6 separate regions of the Homo sapiens genome follow, and all the other regions are linked to region 1. Evidence: promoter capture Hi-C in 16 types of primary human blood cells and fetal thymus (Javierre and others, 2016). All regions are on one chromosome and are shown on one strand. Each heading gives the region's core, a stretch centred on a gene start or on the middle of the fragment in contact. The rest is flanking DNA. Distances are from core to core; before and after follow the strand shown. Region 1 holds the start of TAGLN3 (transgelin 3). Region 2 overlaps CD96 (CD96 molecule). Region 3 overlaps CD96 (CD96 molecule). Region 4 overlaps PLCXD2 (phosphatidylinositol specific phospholipase C X domain containing 2). Region 5 overlaps PLCXD2 (phosphatidylinositol specific phospholipase C X domain containing 2). Region 6 has its middle 56 kb from the start of PLCXD2-AS1.

Evidence for each region. The method cuts DNA at HindIII sites, captures the fragments that hold promoters and counts their contacts. A CHiCAGO score of 5 or more calls a contact.
Region 2: a contact is called between a fragment that was not itself captured here and the fragment with the promoter of TAGLN3 in region 1, in 1 of 17 cell types (activated CD4 T cells). The highest score is 6.5, in activated CD4 T cells.
Region 3: a contact is called between a fragment that was not itself captured here and the fragment with the promoter of TAGLN3 in region 1, in 1 of 17 cell types (activated CD4 T cells). The highest score is 5.4, in activated CD4 T cells.
Region 4: a fragment that was not itself captured here is called in contact with the fragment with the promoter of TAGLN3 in region 1 in 5 of 17 cell types (M1 macrophages, total B cells, fetal thymus and 2 more); the score reaches 7.8 in M1 macrophages.
Region 5: a fragment that was not itself captured here is called in contact with the fragment with the promoter of TAGLN3 in region 1 in 7 of 17 cell types (endothelial precursors, erythroblasts, activated CD4 T cells and 4 more); the score reaches 8.1 in endothelial precursors.
Region 6: a contact is called between a fragment that was not itself captured here and the fragment with the promoter of TAGLN3 in region 1, in 1 of 17 cell types (naive CD4 T cells). The highest score is 5.0, in naive CD4 T cells.

Annotation. Positions count from the first base shown.
Region 1 is chr3:111,997,651-112,000,171 of GRCh38, forward strand. TAGLN3 (transgelin 3) reads left to right here and starts at 1,272. Exons shown (of 5, transcript NM_001008272.2): 1 at 1,272-1,464; 2 at 1,771-1,952. The coding sequence starts at 1,773. The HindIII fragment of the contact is 5,204 bases long and covers 1-2,521 here.
Region 2 is chr3:111,546,962-111,549,482 of GRCh38, forward strand. The region is part of intron 2 of CD96 (CD96 molecule); the gene reads left to right. Among named protein-coding and RNA genes, the nearest start is that of CD96, 6.0 kb to the left of the region's middle. The HindIII fragment of the contact is 1,137 bases long and covers 691-1,827 here.
Region 3 is chr3:111,581,406-111,583,926 of GRCh38, forward strand. All of the region lies in intron 4 of CD96 (CD96 molecule), which reads left to right. Among named protein-coding and RNA genes, the nearest start is that of ZBED2, 13 kb to the right of the region's middle. The HindIII fragment of the contact is 7,112 bases long and covers 1-2,521 here.
Region 4 is chr3:111,679,511-111,682,031 of GRCh38, forward strand. All of the region lies in intron 1 of PLCXD2 (phosphatidylinositol specific phospholipase C X domain containing 2), which reads left to right. Among named protein-coding and RNA genes, the nearest start is that of PLCXD2-AS1, 3.3 kb to the left of the region's middle. The HindIII fragment of the contact is 4,779 bases long and covers 1-2,521 here.
Region 5 is chr3:111,696,704-111,699,224 of GRCh38, forward strand. The region is part of intron 1 of PLCXD2 (phosphatidylinositol specific phospholipase C X domain containing 2); the gene reads left to right. Among named protein-coding and RNA genes, the nearest start is that of PLCXD2-AS1, 21 kb to the left of the region's middle. The HindIII fragment of the contact is 2,467 bases long and covers 32-2,498 here.
Region 6 is chr3:111,732,159-111,734,679 of GRCh38, forward strand. It overlaps a transcript of PHLDB2 not described here. Among named protein-coding and RNA genes, the nearest start is that of PLCXD2-AS1, 56 kb to the left of the region's middle. RefSeq lists an enhancer at 2,471-2,521. The HindIII fragment of the contact is 299 bases long and covers 1,114-1,412 here.

The DNA of each region.
Region 1 (2,521 bases), core at 22-2,521:
CTAATCAATTTCCCACAGGGACAAAGATCATCATCCCATGTACCCAGAATTGCTTTATTTAATATGCTTGAGTCAATTTATCAATCTGTTTTCAATGCAAGAATTGTATTTTATTCCTCCTCAGTCCAGTAGTTGGCATAAACACTCAGTAAATATCTGTTGAATGAAGAAATGAACCAAACGAAAAAAAATGTGGAATTTTTCTCATGAAAAACACCCAGAGAATTACACAACACCAATGAGACTCAATCTTTACCCACAAATGGCTTACAGTCTAGGAGGACAAACTGCCAAGCCCTTTAGCTGTTATAAAAATGTGGGGCCAACTTAGAGCTAATGGTTTCTCCTGAGTGCTTGTTTGCCCATGAGAAATATTCAGTTACTTCTGACAATATGTCGGTTGTGCCTTCACGGTCCTTACTTCAGATGAAGTCTTTACATTCTATCAAAACCTTTCACTCTAAGAGTTCTTAGTCGTTGAGTTTTGTTTAATTTATAAAACTTGCCGGGCGTGGTGGCTCATGCCTGTAATCCCAGAACTTTGGGAGGCCGAGGCAGTCAGATCACCTGAGGTCAGGAGTTCAAGACCAGCCTGACCAACGTGGCAAAACCCCATCTCCACTAAAAATACAAAAATTAGCCAGGCCTGGTGGCACACACCTGTAATCCTAGCTACCTGGGAGGCTGAGGCAGGAGAATCGCTTGAACCCAGGAGGCAGAGGTTGCAGCCAGCCGAGATTGTGCCACTGCACTCCAGCCTGGGCAACAGAGCGAGACTCTGTCTAAAAATATATAGTAAGAATTATAATAATAATTTATAAAACTTGTTCTTAGTGTCTTTCAGTTAAGAGTAGCATGAAAAAAATACCTCCCTTGAATAAGTCAAACTGAGGCACAACAGTTTCAGGATGGAAGTTTCTGGGTGAAGTTGGGCTGGCAGCTGAACAAGTAAATGATAGCAGCTCTCAGTCCCTCCCCTCCTGTCCTGCCAGACAGTTGTTACCTCAGGGCAGGGGGAAAGTAGCTTGGCTATTCCCGACAGATGGACAGTTGGTAGAACGGACCCTCCCACAGGCCCTCATCCCCTTGTGCAGCTGCTGGCCTCGTAGACAATCGGCTGTCTCCCCAGAAGAGGGAAAGAATTGTGCAGATGAGAAAGAGGCTCTCAGCGGGAGGGAGGCAGGCGGGCTTGATTGACACAGGAGAGGGCTGGCTTTTTGGAGGGCTCTTAGCAACGGCCCTGGTTGAGCCCCCTCAGCCATGAGAAAATCAAATCAATGTGCCATTCTTCCAGGCGCGAGGCAGCAGCGGCTGCAGTTCAACATGAAAGGAGGCTTCCTCCCTGCCTGCTAATTACCTGCTCTTCCCGATCTCATCGTTTCTGCCTTTGCAAAGTGCTACTGAGAAGGGGGAAGAAACGTCCGCCACCCATCCCCCTTGCTGCCTGGGGGTTCAGACTTGATTGTGAGTCCGTGTTATATCATCTGGTCTCATTGATAGGCGGGATAGGGAGGGGGATTCCAGCCCCCCTGGACCGGCCGGAGGTTTATTCTAGAGTTACTGGCGGGTAGCTGTGCTTTTCTTTCCCGTTTGTAGGTGAAACCCCATTGGCTTCATTGGCTCCTTGATTTAAACCACGCCCGGCTTTCTGCCCTCTTTGCTGCTGCTGGGCCAGGTTGCCCAGCCATATCCCAGCCCCGTCTGCAGGGAGCCGGAGGCTGCTGCTGCTGCTATTGTGTGGATGCCGCGCGTGTCTTCTCTTCTTTCCAGAGATGGCTAACAGGGGCCCGAGCTATGGCTTAAGCCGAGAGGTGCAGGAGAAGATCGAGCAGAAGTATGATGCGGACCTGGAGAACAAGCTGGTGGACTGGATCATCCTGCAGTGCGCCGAGGACATAGAGCACCCGCCCCCCGGCAGGGCCCATTTTCAGAAATGGTTAATGGACGGGACGGTAAGGCCGGCAGCGATCTCGGTTGCTGGGGCGGTGGGCAGGGAAACCCTCCAGGGCCCTTTCTTTTAACGTAAGGCTGCGGGAAGAGCTGCTGTTGCCAAGCTCTATGTCTCACCGGGAGGGGATGAGAATGCCTTTATTTCTTCAGGGTTGGAAGATTTGGGCTCCATGCACTATTCCCTAGCTAGCTTGGGGGTTCTCCACTCACCCTAGCATTACATCTCCCTTCTGAGTTGGCAAATTCGAAGCCCTTTTGATTTTTCTAATGAGAATAGAGATAAGTATGTCCTTGTAATTTCCCCAGCCTTCCTGGTGCATCAGCTCTTCTGGGGCCATTTCTTTCCCTAGGGGATCGTGTTGGTTACACAGTAAAACAAAGAAGGGAGGAGGGGGACTAGCCACCTTCACATTCTTGTGGGAGCCATGCACCCTGGAAGTGTTCAGTGTCTGTTTATTGAGTGGATGCGTTCTCATGAAACTGAAAGGAGTCCTTATTTGTTAACTGCATTTCTGACCAAATGCTCGTGTGTGTTTGAGGGTTTGAGGGCCGCAGGCTCTGTGATTCAAAC
Region 2 (2,521 bases), core at 9-2,508, 450 kb before region 1:
GGATGGAGTGGAGTGGGATTGAAGTAAAGAGAAATGGAAGACCTATATAGAAAACTGTTTAGCTATACATAGTTTGATTCAGGTAGCCTGTATTTGGATATTGGCTCTATCATTTACCATACGTTTCATCATTCCCAAGTTGTTTCAAGTTTCTTACATAACAAATATGGATAATTATAGTGCTTTCTTTACAGGTATCACTAGCTTGGTGATTAAATGAGATAATCTGTGTAATGCACTTAAACATATAGTTCCTGCTAAAGGATAAGAGTTTGGTAAATGGTAGTTTTCAATTAAGAATAGTAATAATTATATTGAGCAAATTCTATTTCTCAGTTCCAATTAAATATGAGCCCTGCTCCTTCTTTTTATATATTGACCTCATTTGGAACCCAGTAAGACATTTGCCATGTAATGTTAGTACAAGTACACATTGACCTTGGTTTCATACATAGTTTTTTTTGTACATTCTGCCTGAACCAGTAAACAATACTATTGCCTCACGGAGGACTCAGTGTTTCCTTCATTGAGACTTGGCAACATGGACTGATGTACCTTATAGGAAATAGAATAAGTGATGCCACAAAATGAAGACAGCAATGGAGAACAGATAGTATATTATCCAGAAAGGAGGATGATGTTGCCTTTAAAGAAATGTATTTCTTAAAATAAAGAGAACCAAGGGAGTTAAGCTTGTAGCTACTAAAAACTGCAGGTCACTGGAGAGGCAGAAACCGTATCTATACTTTTTGCGGTTGGAAAATTTCCGGTCTTCTGAATGTAACTTTGCTGCTGTCATCTGGATCAGATGAAAAGCAATGGCCTCAGTGTTAGAGAAATGGTTCTGGTATTGTGATTTTGGGTACAAAGGGAGTAAAATAGAAAAGAGCAAAACAGAAGGGGGAAACATCCTTCACCACAGAGTGACCACAAATGTAAGCCTGGTACGGAGCTACAGAGTAGGCAGCTGACTAAAGGGAGGCAGTTGCCATCTGAGAGCTCTGTCAAGTTCACAACCAATAGCATATTTTCTTTCTACCCTTTACTGTTTTGATCTTCTCTTGCTTCTTCTCCTCTCACTTGTACAGTTTTCTTCTTATGCCCCTGTGCAATCTTTAAGTTTACAAGCTAGTTGGGTAAGCAAAACACACCTGAAGTGCAAACACTTATATAGTACATAAACAAATGCAAATTGAAGTGGTGCATAAGAACCTAATTTGAAAATGCTGAGGGACTTGAAGTGTTTGAGTTGATCATCTCTTCCTGTTTCTTTTCTGTTGCTGTTTGAGTCATTCTCTCTTGTCTGCTCACAACACAGTGTGTGTCTAAATCCTGTTCCCATGTTCCCCAAGGGCCTAGCTGTGAAAGGATTCTGTTCTCTTTTCACAATATTTTGTCTCTGTGTGTGTCTTAGTGCTCTGAGATTGTGGACAAGAGTGGAAATATAATAAACAGTGTGAGGTTTGCCTCTTTTTCGCTTTCACTTGACAGAGTTTCCTCCTAGGTTAGGAGATTTTCAGTCACTCCAAGAAATGCAGTTCTCTGAGTTAAGCCTTGGATTGTCATAATCTAGATTTCATTCATTTGAATGCTACTGGATCCCATAATGCTTCAGATTGTAAGATTTTGGTGCATTTTAAAATTTGTAGTTATTAAGATCAGTTATAAGAGTATAACATGGCTTTAATTTACTAGTTCACAGTAAATGCCTTGGTGGGCTGTTAATGTTATTGGAAGCAGTAGTAGCAGTGAATGCGGTTGGAGAAGTCATGGTCCTGGAAGTAGTAGTAATAGTAGCAATAAAATTTTGATACTACAATGTTGATAAGCTTGGTCTAAAACATGTTGTTATCCTGTCTAGTTTGTATTGAGCCTGAATGCTGGCTCTTCTTAAATTCCTGTATTTAGTCTTTATCCAACAAGTGTTTTTGAGTGCTTACAGTGCTAGACACTGGGCACTAGGCACAGAGTAGGCATATATGCATGACTGTGTCTTCATGAATCACAAAGTTCAATAGGAAGAAGTTGACATTCATCAAATAAGCAAACAAATATCAAATTGCAACAGTGAGAAGTGCTTCAGAAGTGAGGAAGTAGTGTATGAGAGGGTATAATAGGAAAATCAGAAAAGACTTTCTTTACTTTGTCCTTTCCTTTCCCTTCCCCCTTATTTTCATTTCCCTCTCTTCTCCCCTCCCCTCTCTTCCCCTCCCCTCCCCTCTCCTTTCCTTTCCTTTGGAAGCGCTGCTTCAACTGGAGTTAACCAAGTGAACACAGAGCTTTACAAAGAACAGGACATGCAAAGGTTCTATGGGGGAAGGAAGTTATAACAACTGGGTAGGCAGGGGAGATTTTAAAAGGTATTATGGCTGGAGCAGAGGGATTACAGGTGAGGCAGTTGACGATAAGGTTAGAAAGATTGATTAGTCCATTTAAGGAGTTTTGTCTTTATCCTAAGAGCTGTGGGAACTAATTAAAAGGTGGTTGTTTTGTTTGATTTTTTTTGTTTTGCATTTCAAAA
Region 3 (2,521 bases), core at 7-2,506, 420 kb before region 1:
AAACACCCATGAAAACCTTGAAATCAATACCCAAATATATATCAGATCTATTCCACATGCCCTAAACCCAGCATATTTCTTCTTCCCAAACAATGTCCATTGCTCAACTCTTCATTGTCTAACAGACCAGGGACAAGAGGGGCTACTCCAGCAATTTTGCCACTTCCTGCATCTCCTTCACTGGTCTCCTTTGGTTTTCCTTTCCTTGGCAGGGAGTCACCTGCCCATCACAGGGTTCTGTTCCACTCCTAAATTCCAAATCTGATTGTCCTCAACCTCAAAGAAAATCTGTCTCACCCTGTCACCTCTGCAATTTTTAGTAGTTGTTCTTTCTTTCAGGGCTTTTATTCTGCTGGTATTTGTTAACAGGAGGTAAGAGATACCTCTCCATCCATTAGTGTTTCAGGTTGTATCTTGGTTTTGGGTTCCCCTGAAATAAAACATCGAGATAAGGATTGCGGTTAATTTATTTGAAAGGCCATCCTGGGAAACATCAGAAAAGGAGTGAGAAAGTGAGTCAGGGAAGGGAAGGAAGATAAGAAAATGTACAAGATTATATCAGTTAGCACCATAGGTTTAGAGCTCATCTTACTGGGAGACAGCATAGAACACACATCAGAGTTATCCCACATGAAGGGCAAGAAAGCTGGGGTATTCATCTACCATCTCTCCATCTGTATCACTATTAACTCTCTGGGACTCCCAGTTTTTACTACTTGTGGACTAAGTATACTCCCATAATCTCAATAAATCATTATGCAAAGAGTCATCTAGTCATCAAAGAGTTATCCCAGTAAGAGATCTTCAGTATGCCAAGGTAAATGGCTAGTGGCTGTAGCAGGCACTGACAGCATCTGTGACTGGAGGTTTAGCATTCTTTCCACTGAGTCATAGAAGGCTGTGTTTGCTATGCTCAAGAATTTACTTGAAGCCACTTCTGTTCAACACGATGTACTTAATGTCTAGTTTGTGCTGGGCAGTTAAGTGCTAGAGATGAAGAAATTGATAAAATACTGGCTCAGAGGCACTTAAAATCTAGTAAAACAACAAAATCACTGAAATATTCCCTGATATTTCCTAGTGCCAAGCAACCAAACAAGAATCAAATGTTTCTCTGCTCCACTTCAGGGACCTTTATAATGAGACTTTATTTCTAAGCTGCATTAGTTCATTTTCATGCTGCTGATAAAGACATACCCAAAACTGGGAAGAAAAAGAGATTTAGTTGGACTTAAAGTTCCACATGGCTGGGGAGGCCTCAGAATCATGGCAGGAGGTGAAAGGCACTTCTTACATGGCAGCAGCAACAGAAAAATGAGGAAAATCAAAAGCATAAATGCCTGATAAACCCATTAGATCTCATGAGACTTATTCACTATAGCATGGTAAAGACCAGCCCTCATGATTCAATTGCCTCCCACCAGGTCCCTTCTGGGAGACACAATTCAAGTTGAGATTTGGGTGGGGACACAGCCAAACCATATAATTTCACCCATGGCCTGTCCCAAATCTCATGTCCTCACATTTCAAAATCAATCATGCCTTCCCAACAGTCCCCCATATTCTCAACCCATTTCAGCATTAACCCAAAAGTCCAAGTCCAAAGTCCCATCTGAGACAAGGCAAGTCCCTTCTGCCTATGAGCCTGTAAAATCAAACGCAAGTTAGTTACTTTCTAGATATAATGGGGGTATAAGCATTCAGTAAATACAACCATTCTAAATGGGAGAAATTGGCCAAAACAAAGGGGCTGCAGGCCCCATGCAAGTCCAAAATCCAAAAGGGCAGTCAAATCTTAAAGTTCCAAAATGATCTCCTTTGACTCTATGTCTTGCATCTGGGTCACACAGATGCAAGAGGTAGGTTCCCATGTTCTTAGGCAGTTCTGTCCCTGTGGCTTTACAGGGTACAGCCTCCCTCCTGGCTGCTTTCACAGGCTAGTGTTGAGTGTCTGCAGCTTTTTCAGGAGCACAGTGCAATCTGTTGGTGGATCTACCATTCTGGGGTCTGGAGGATGGTGGCCCTCTTCTCACAGCTCCACTAGTCAGTGCCCCATTAGGGACTCTGTGTGGGGGCTCCAACCCCACATTTCCCTTCTGCACTGCCCAAGCAGAGGTTCTTCATGAGGGCCCCGCCCTTGCAGCAAACTTTTGCTGGGTATTCAGACATTTCCATAAATCTTCTGAAATCTAGGTAGATGTTCCCAAACCTCAGTTCTTGACTTCTCTGCACGCACAGGCTCAACACCATGTGGAAGCTGCCAAGGCTTGGGGATTCCACACTTTTAGAAGCAATGGCCCAAGCTGCACGTTGGCCCCTTTCAGCCATAGCTGGAATGGCTGGGACACAGGGCACCAAGTCCCGAGGCTGCACACAGCAAGGGGACCCTGGGCCCAGCCCAGGAAACCACTTTTTCCTCCTGGGCCTCTGGACCTGTGATGGGAGGGGCTGCTGTGAAGGTCTCTGATGTGGCCTGGGGACATTTTCCCCATGGTCTTGTAGATTAACATTAGGCTCCTTC
Region 4 (2,521 bases), core at 17-2,516, 320 kb before region 1:
TTGGTGACAGTTGAGTGAATAATTGAAAGTATGGAAAGTATGGAGTAAGAATGCTGGAAACATGGTTTGCAGCCACCGCTGTTTTTCATTGTGATCAGAGCTGAATAGATTGGTTAAGTTCAGCTTTCACAAATAGCCACATGAAACCATATGAAGATTTTCCAATCCATTTCTTGTTATTGCGCATAATATTCCTGAAGATTAGGCTTGATAAGGCTCATCACTAAGCCCCATTAGAAATGAAAATTTTGAGGCTGAAAATGGTCGCAAGAGTCAGAAGCAGAGCCCTGGTGTAACTTCTTTTCTAGGAGCGATTCTTTCACCCAACATCCCTCCTGCCTTCCTTCTTCCCTTGTCAAATTAGAGCTTTTCATCTTTGCTGCCTGGCTGCTGCCTCTCCCAGATCTCATTTCTTGTTCCCCTCTTTGCTTTCTTTCCACTGACCTGACCTGGTCTCCAGCCTTCCCTTGGCAGGGTCAACCCTTCCACAGGTGCTCCTCACTGCTCTCCGATTCCCAGATGATTCTCTGATCTCATGTTGCTAGTGATCATTCCCTTCTTTTCTTTTCTACCTTTCTGGAATCCTATCCTTTTCCTAGCAGTTTTGCCCTTGAGTACTTAGTGATTTCTATAGGTCTTCCTCCTGTGGCCGCACACCCTCTTCCCACATGTGTGACATGGAGACAAAATCCCTTAGTGGAGCAGGATGGAGTCATTACTCAGATCTTGCTTCTGAAAGTTGAACCAGATTTGGCATATCTAAAAGAGATTTGGAGACCACCCCAAAAGAGCACAAAATAAATTGTGTAACAAGAAGTTTTGGTTGGCTCTACTTTGAGGATAGTATGAACCGTGAGTTGGCCCTAAAACAAATCCATTTTCCTACAGGATTTGAGGTTGTGGGAAACCAAGGACCAAGCTGAATCTACCAAGGCTGACTCAATCATGAAAAAAAAAAAATCATACAAGACCAAAACTGTCTCTTAAATGAGAATCGTTTATTTTTGTTTTGTTTTGCTTTTTCCCCCCTCTGAGTGGCCATGGTGAAAAATAAAAAGACACTATGACTGTGGTGGTTCCATTAGTAGGTTTCACTCTTAAAAAGGCTCATCATTTCTCTAGCCATCTCTCCTCCTGCAAATCACAAAAGCCACAAGGAATTCCAGAATCACACATGTCTATAAACAGAAAGATCATGGATTGGTTAAGAGTATGAATACAACAGCCAGACTATCTGGATTTAAATACTGATTCTGCCCTTTACAAGCAGTGTGACTTTGGACAAATTACTTAACCTCTCTGTGCCTCAGTGTCCTTCTCTGTAACACAGGTAATCTATGCACCACCTCATTTCTTAGTGTGAGAAATAAATTAATTCATATAGTATGCTTTCTCTCACAAAATAAGCACTAGATAATAATAACAATTGTTATTATGTATCGTTTAAAAAAATCAATCAGAACATTCATTTATTGAAAGCCTGTGACTGGAATGGACAACAAAAAAGAGGTGTAAAATGCAGTTTATACCCTCAGGTAATTTACAATCTAGTTAAGGAGCTGGCTGTCCAATTAAACTGTCTGACTCAGTGTTCTCTGTCTGATCAGATTAGGGTAACTTGAATGGTTACCCTGCAAAGGAGGCTTTAAAGTTAAGGGAAGGATACACGGAGGGTTCCCCAGGATGTGAGTGCCAAGGGTGTCTTAGATGCAATAGCAGGTGGCTGATCAAGACAGCCAGAAAACTTTCTTTAGTTATTTACTCTGTCCTGTCCCATCCCAAATTCAGCTGTCAGACTGTCATCCCCAGACATCCAGAGCCTTTGGGAAAAACTCAGCCCTCTGTGACAGAAACATGTTGTTAACTTTTTTCTGCTCTCCTCATTTCCTCATCACTTGCCCTCCTAACCCAGTCATTTTGTTCCTAGCTTGAGAGTGGGAATGTTACAAAATGCTTTCCTTTGAACAAATCCTTATACATGTTTTATAATTCCTTCCCCCAGCTATTGGAATAATAGCTTCATCATCCCTCCAAACACATACATCACCCACACATGCAACACACATGTACCACCCATTACCCAACACACACACATGCACAGATACTTAGCTATGACGTTAGCCTCAGCCTCAACCTCCACTGGGCCCAAATCTCAATACATGCTATCGTTCACCAGTCATAAATATCTTGCAAAACATGCCCACTGACACTTCAGACCCTTGGAGCGTGCTGCTTGCACCTGCAAGCTCCTCTCTCAGACATGTTTCTGAAGCTGAGGAGTTGGTTTCTAACACGTGATCTGACCTGACCTCCACTAGATTGACAGGTAGCTTCTACATCTCTCTCCTGCCTCTAGGAACTTAGGAGCACAGGCACACTAAAGGTAATGCTAGTGAAATGCTTTAGCGTCCTGCAACTTTGCCTCTGGGAAAATCGCAAACCACTTTGCCAATGCTGACTAACCCCAATTAGAGTTTCAAACCAGGCCTGCAGAGGAGGGATTATTTGTAGACATTGTAAT
Region 5 (2,521 bases), core at 15-2,514, 300 kb before region 1:
ACATGCATATCCAATATATGTTTTTAGCCCAAGCTTACGATGGACCGACCAGATGATCTTAGTTTTGATAGAAATAATATGATTTAGGTCTTGATAAAAATTTGGAGCTTACATGGCATTTAGATGACTCTCAAAAATGAGCTCAAAATAATATTTGTCTTTAAAAGAATTTTTAGAGAATAATTATTATCTATTAGAAGTTTTCTATTGATATTAGTAAACATATTTCCAAATAAATGAAAGGTGGGCTTTTTTTCCACTGAATAAGAGAATTTTCTGGATTTCATTTAAGATGGGCCAGTTTTAGTGCCAACATGTACACATAGACATGCACATAAATACTTTGGTAACCGAGAAGACCTTAGCTCCAAACACGTCTGTAGATATTCCATCCAAACTCTTGCTATCCAAACATTTGCTATAACTTATAAGATTTATTTTATCCAGAATTCACTACTTAAATAAAAAAATCCCATCGTGTGAGCTAGCAAAAACATTTAAGTTGCAGGTACACCTTGTCAAAAAGATGGAGAATGTGTTACATCCATAGTTCAGCTACCCTCCCAGCAGGCTCGAGCTGTGCATTAGCGCTCTCAACTTACCACATTATTGAGTGAGAATGTCTTCTAAGAAAGCAAAAAGCCTCTGAATAAAACAAGCACACTCGAGAGGCCTAAAAAGAAAAATTGGGTGATAAAGCATATTGAGAGAGATGAACTAACATAAACTTGGCCATACTTACATCTCTAAGAACTATGCATTAATATTTTTAATTTGTAGAAAAAAATACAGAAAAACTTCTGAAAATATTACTGGTTCTGCTGTTTATATTAGGGAAAGATTATCTGTGGATGATTACATTGGTGTTTGAGTGTTTTAATGATATTTGGTATTTGAGAAAACTGATAGGGTTTTTTTGATGGGTTGGGAAGACATTACTGTTTTTTCCATTTCAAATAATGGATTATATAGGCTTCTACTCTCAAAAAATCTGTCATTCAACATCTTTTTGGCAACAGGTTGGATTTGTTTTTCCATAAAAATCACTTGATGACATCTAATTTTATGTTGTTAAAAATAAAAAGTTTAAGAACATCCTCAGAATTTTCTGTCTTATACTTGCAAATTGTGTAGTCACTGTATTTATTTCCAAGTACTGACATAGGAGCAGACTAGAGATATTAATAATTTATAATTTTAGTTTTAGTGCCAATTTGAATTTCAACTGTAGAATACTATGATCCAAACTTACTCCTTTTGATGTTGATTTTGGGTGTAACCTAAAATAAATGACTTAAACTACAGACTTCATTTTTCCTAGCCCTAAATGTTAATTGCCATGACAGATCCTCAAATATAAATATTTACTGAGGTTTCATGGCTTTATTTAAAAACCAGAATTATTTGTTTCTCAGATAGTATCATCCAAATAAAAGATGACACAAATTTCTTAATAATTAATAATAATAACATGTTTGAGCTCATTCTATTAGCCAAGGACTCTTCTGGGTGTTTGCCTGAGTTAACTCATTTAGTCTTCACAACAGACCAATGAAGTTAGTACTGCTGTTGTCCACATTGTGCAGATGAGGAAACTGAGGCCCAGCATTTTATTCACATAACTAGTAGGCAGTAGAGCCAGGATTATGAACTCAGGCAGCCTGACAACAGACTCTGTGCCCCTATCCACTGCGGGGACACTCCATTTAGCTTATTCAGAGCTATGGTAATTCACTAAGTTAGGTGTTAGGACTCACCATTTGTGAAGTTCTTTCTTAACTAGTATCTTACAAAGTGCAAGTCTGAGTCCTTTGGGACTGTGTAGACAGAAAAATGATTTGTTGGTAGTCCTGGAAATTGCAAGTGAGAATACTTAAAAAGATTACTGGAAAAGAAGAAATTCAGTGGTTCCCAACCCATTAGTGTTCTAGAGACAGGGGATGGGAATAGAACCTTCCAGTACTGGGTCACCTTATGGATGGGAGGGAAACATTGCTGGAGGCATTGAGAGGCAGGCCAATTAAGGATAAAAAGAGACAGTGTCAGAGGTTCAGCCCAGACAAGCCAGGAACCTCAGTCTAGGGTGGTGGTCTGTCTCAGCCTTTTGTTCATAATCACTCCCTGAAGGAGTCTTATTAGGCATTTCTATTCCTTATTTCCCCCCCTCCTCCCCTGTGAAATTATAACACTCAGATGTATCTGTACTTTGTACATAGAAGAATAAGATTTTTCACTCCCTAAGAACAAATTTTTGCAATGTCAGTGCCTAAAGGCACAGATACACTGAATGGTGTCAATACACATGGGGTGGGGAGAGTGGGATCAGTGAAGCACCTGCAGGAACTAATGGGCTTCAAAGTTAGAAGGACTTAGAGACAGGAGGACCTAAGGGAGGTGAAGACAGGAGGTTTTCTTAAATATGTGAAGTCAGGAGTTCTTTGACTTAGGGTCACCATCCTCACCTACCCAGATGGGGAGTTTCTCTCTATCTTCTTATAAGCTTCACTTAACTCTTGTCTCA
Region 6 (2,521 bases), core at 13-2,512, 270 kb before region 1:
TTTGATAAAGTGACTTCCAGATTTCCCTCTGAGATTGCTGAAATCTAAAGGAATAAAAATTTCGTTTCCTCTATAAACTATTCTCGGGGCCTCTTGTCCACTTCCCAGATGCAGTTACAAGGGAATCACTTTTCTGGATAGCCAATGGCTATCAGACTGTGCTTTCTGCCCCCCACAGTCCTGCCATCTGATTTTTCCATGCAGCTCTGGTTGGATTTAAGCAGGACTAGCAGTCTGTCCTGGTGTGTAATGATTGGCTAGACCAGGCGGCTGAGGCCAGGGCAGACTCCCTCCTTCACATCTGTCAATATACCTGGCTGCAAGCAAGTTGCTGCCTGTGACCACAGTCTGCAGAGGCCAGAGAGAGCAGGAAAGGAAATGGAAAGGAACCTCACCTTCATGCTTGGGGAAAAGGAGAAACCTGTGTTAATGTGTCTTCCCAACATCCCACTCTCTTCAGCAATCGCTGGAACAGCCATGGGCCATCCCTGCTGAGTCAGGAAAGAAGCTGAGGGAAGAGTCGGGATTGAAAAGCAGCAGACAAGGTAGGTGATCTCTCTGGTCACTGGCCCTTCTCTTGTAATAACAAAATGAGCAGCATATACAGCCTCGTCACCAGAGTGTTTCTGAGGAGGGTCTGCTGGAGATATGGTAGACCCGGGTGTGTGTCTGAATTCAGTCATTTTTCTATCAGCCTGTTCTGGAAAGCAGGCTGTATTTTCCTTCTGTCTTCTATCTCTTCTGAAAATTGTTGTTGCTCCTGTACGTATTTCAGAAACTTGGAAGGTTTTTTAAAAATTTTTCATTATAACAAATTATATGTGCGATTTATTAAAATGATTTCATTGGTGGTAACTCCACAAGCATGGTTTTGTTCCAGAATTTTCGTTGCATAATTTTTTTCAATTTTCAAGACATACCAGAGAGGACAGTGTACATATACTGTAGTATATGGTATAGAATAATATATTCCGAGAAATATACTGTCCATTCACAGGGCTGTCAACCTCGTATGATAGGCTCTCCCAGGAAGTCACGTATATTTTTCTGCTTTGGAACCTAGAGAGTTAAAAGTCCTGAAATTACTGGAGCAGAATCAAGCCTATTTACCTAAGCTTATCACATCGGCAGCCAGGTCAATCATTTACTGAGACTAGGCCGTTTCTTACCCTGAATCAGGAGGACCACCAAAGCCTTTGCTGGCCTGAGTCCCTCTGTAGCAAAGGCATGGGCAACACAGAAGAAATGCTCCTCTGAAGCTATAGTCCAGATTCTCTTCTCACCAGAAGTAAGTTTTTCTCCTTCCGAGAATAGTAAATATCCCAAGACCCCCCTTCCCCAGCTCAATGATAAACAAACATGAGCAAAACTAATATGCAAACCTGATGATACCAATGCCACTCTATGTACAAAGCTTGTGGCTTTGGAGGGAGCTTCCCTCATCACTGGAGGTCTATGGGGAAGAAGGAGATGATAACTATGAAACAAGTTATTGAGTGATTCTTGAGGAAGAATAAAGTTATAAAGTAATCACCAAGGAAAACATGGAAATTTTCCCCTTCAAGTCTACACACTCTAGAAATATGTAATTTTTATCTAATATGATTCACTCTTCCTTAAGTCTGAATATAACTCCTCTAATTGCAGAAATGTTGTCATATGGTCACCACATACAACTTTCGGGCCTGTGCAGTGGTTCCTGGCTCCTATAGTCATTAGTTAGAAGCCTAGTAATGCTGAAGTCCTATTTTTCTGAACTCCCTTTAGGGAAGGAGTTGGGTCATGTAGGACAAGGTAATGTTTGACATTATTTTTGTCAATCAGTTGTGGAACTGAAGTGACTCCCCTCAGGCAGGGTTTGTGGCTGAATATTTAGTGTCTGAGGCAGTTAACTAGATGCAAGAGTGGAGGCCATTGTAGACATAAACCCTTGTGTGACTTTGGGTAAGTCTGTGGCTACCTCTCAAGAATGTTGTGGAGAATTATGGAAAACTGATACGTTTCTGTGAAGATATTAAGCACTGCAAAATGTTAAGTGTGAATCTGGCTGGTATCCAGAGGATGTTCATAGATAATGCAAGTGATGGAGGTGGTTTTGACGAGGGAAAAGGATCTTGGGGTGATCAAATGCATTGGCTAGGTCGGGCATGGCAACCCATGCCTGTAATCCTAGCACTTTGGAAGGTGAGGCAGAGGATTGCTTGAAGCCAGGAGTTCAAGACCAGCCTGAGCAACAAAGTGAGCCTCTGTCTCTACAAAAAATTTTTTTTAAAAATTTATGCATTGGCCATATTTCCCCACATTACTGAAGGCTGCCTTAGGGACAGACACACAGGTCTGACCTGTCCTTTTTTTGTAGCTTCTGGCTCAGGGCCTAAAACAAACTGGAAGCCCCTAAGGGTATGTACAGCTTTTTCTTTCCATTTCCTGAATATTGGATAGTAAGTAGAGGGAGACTATTCTTCAGATTGACTAGATTAGAATAGGCATTGTCATTGTTTTTCAACGTTAGGTAGTTAGA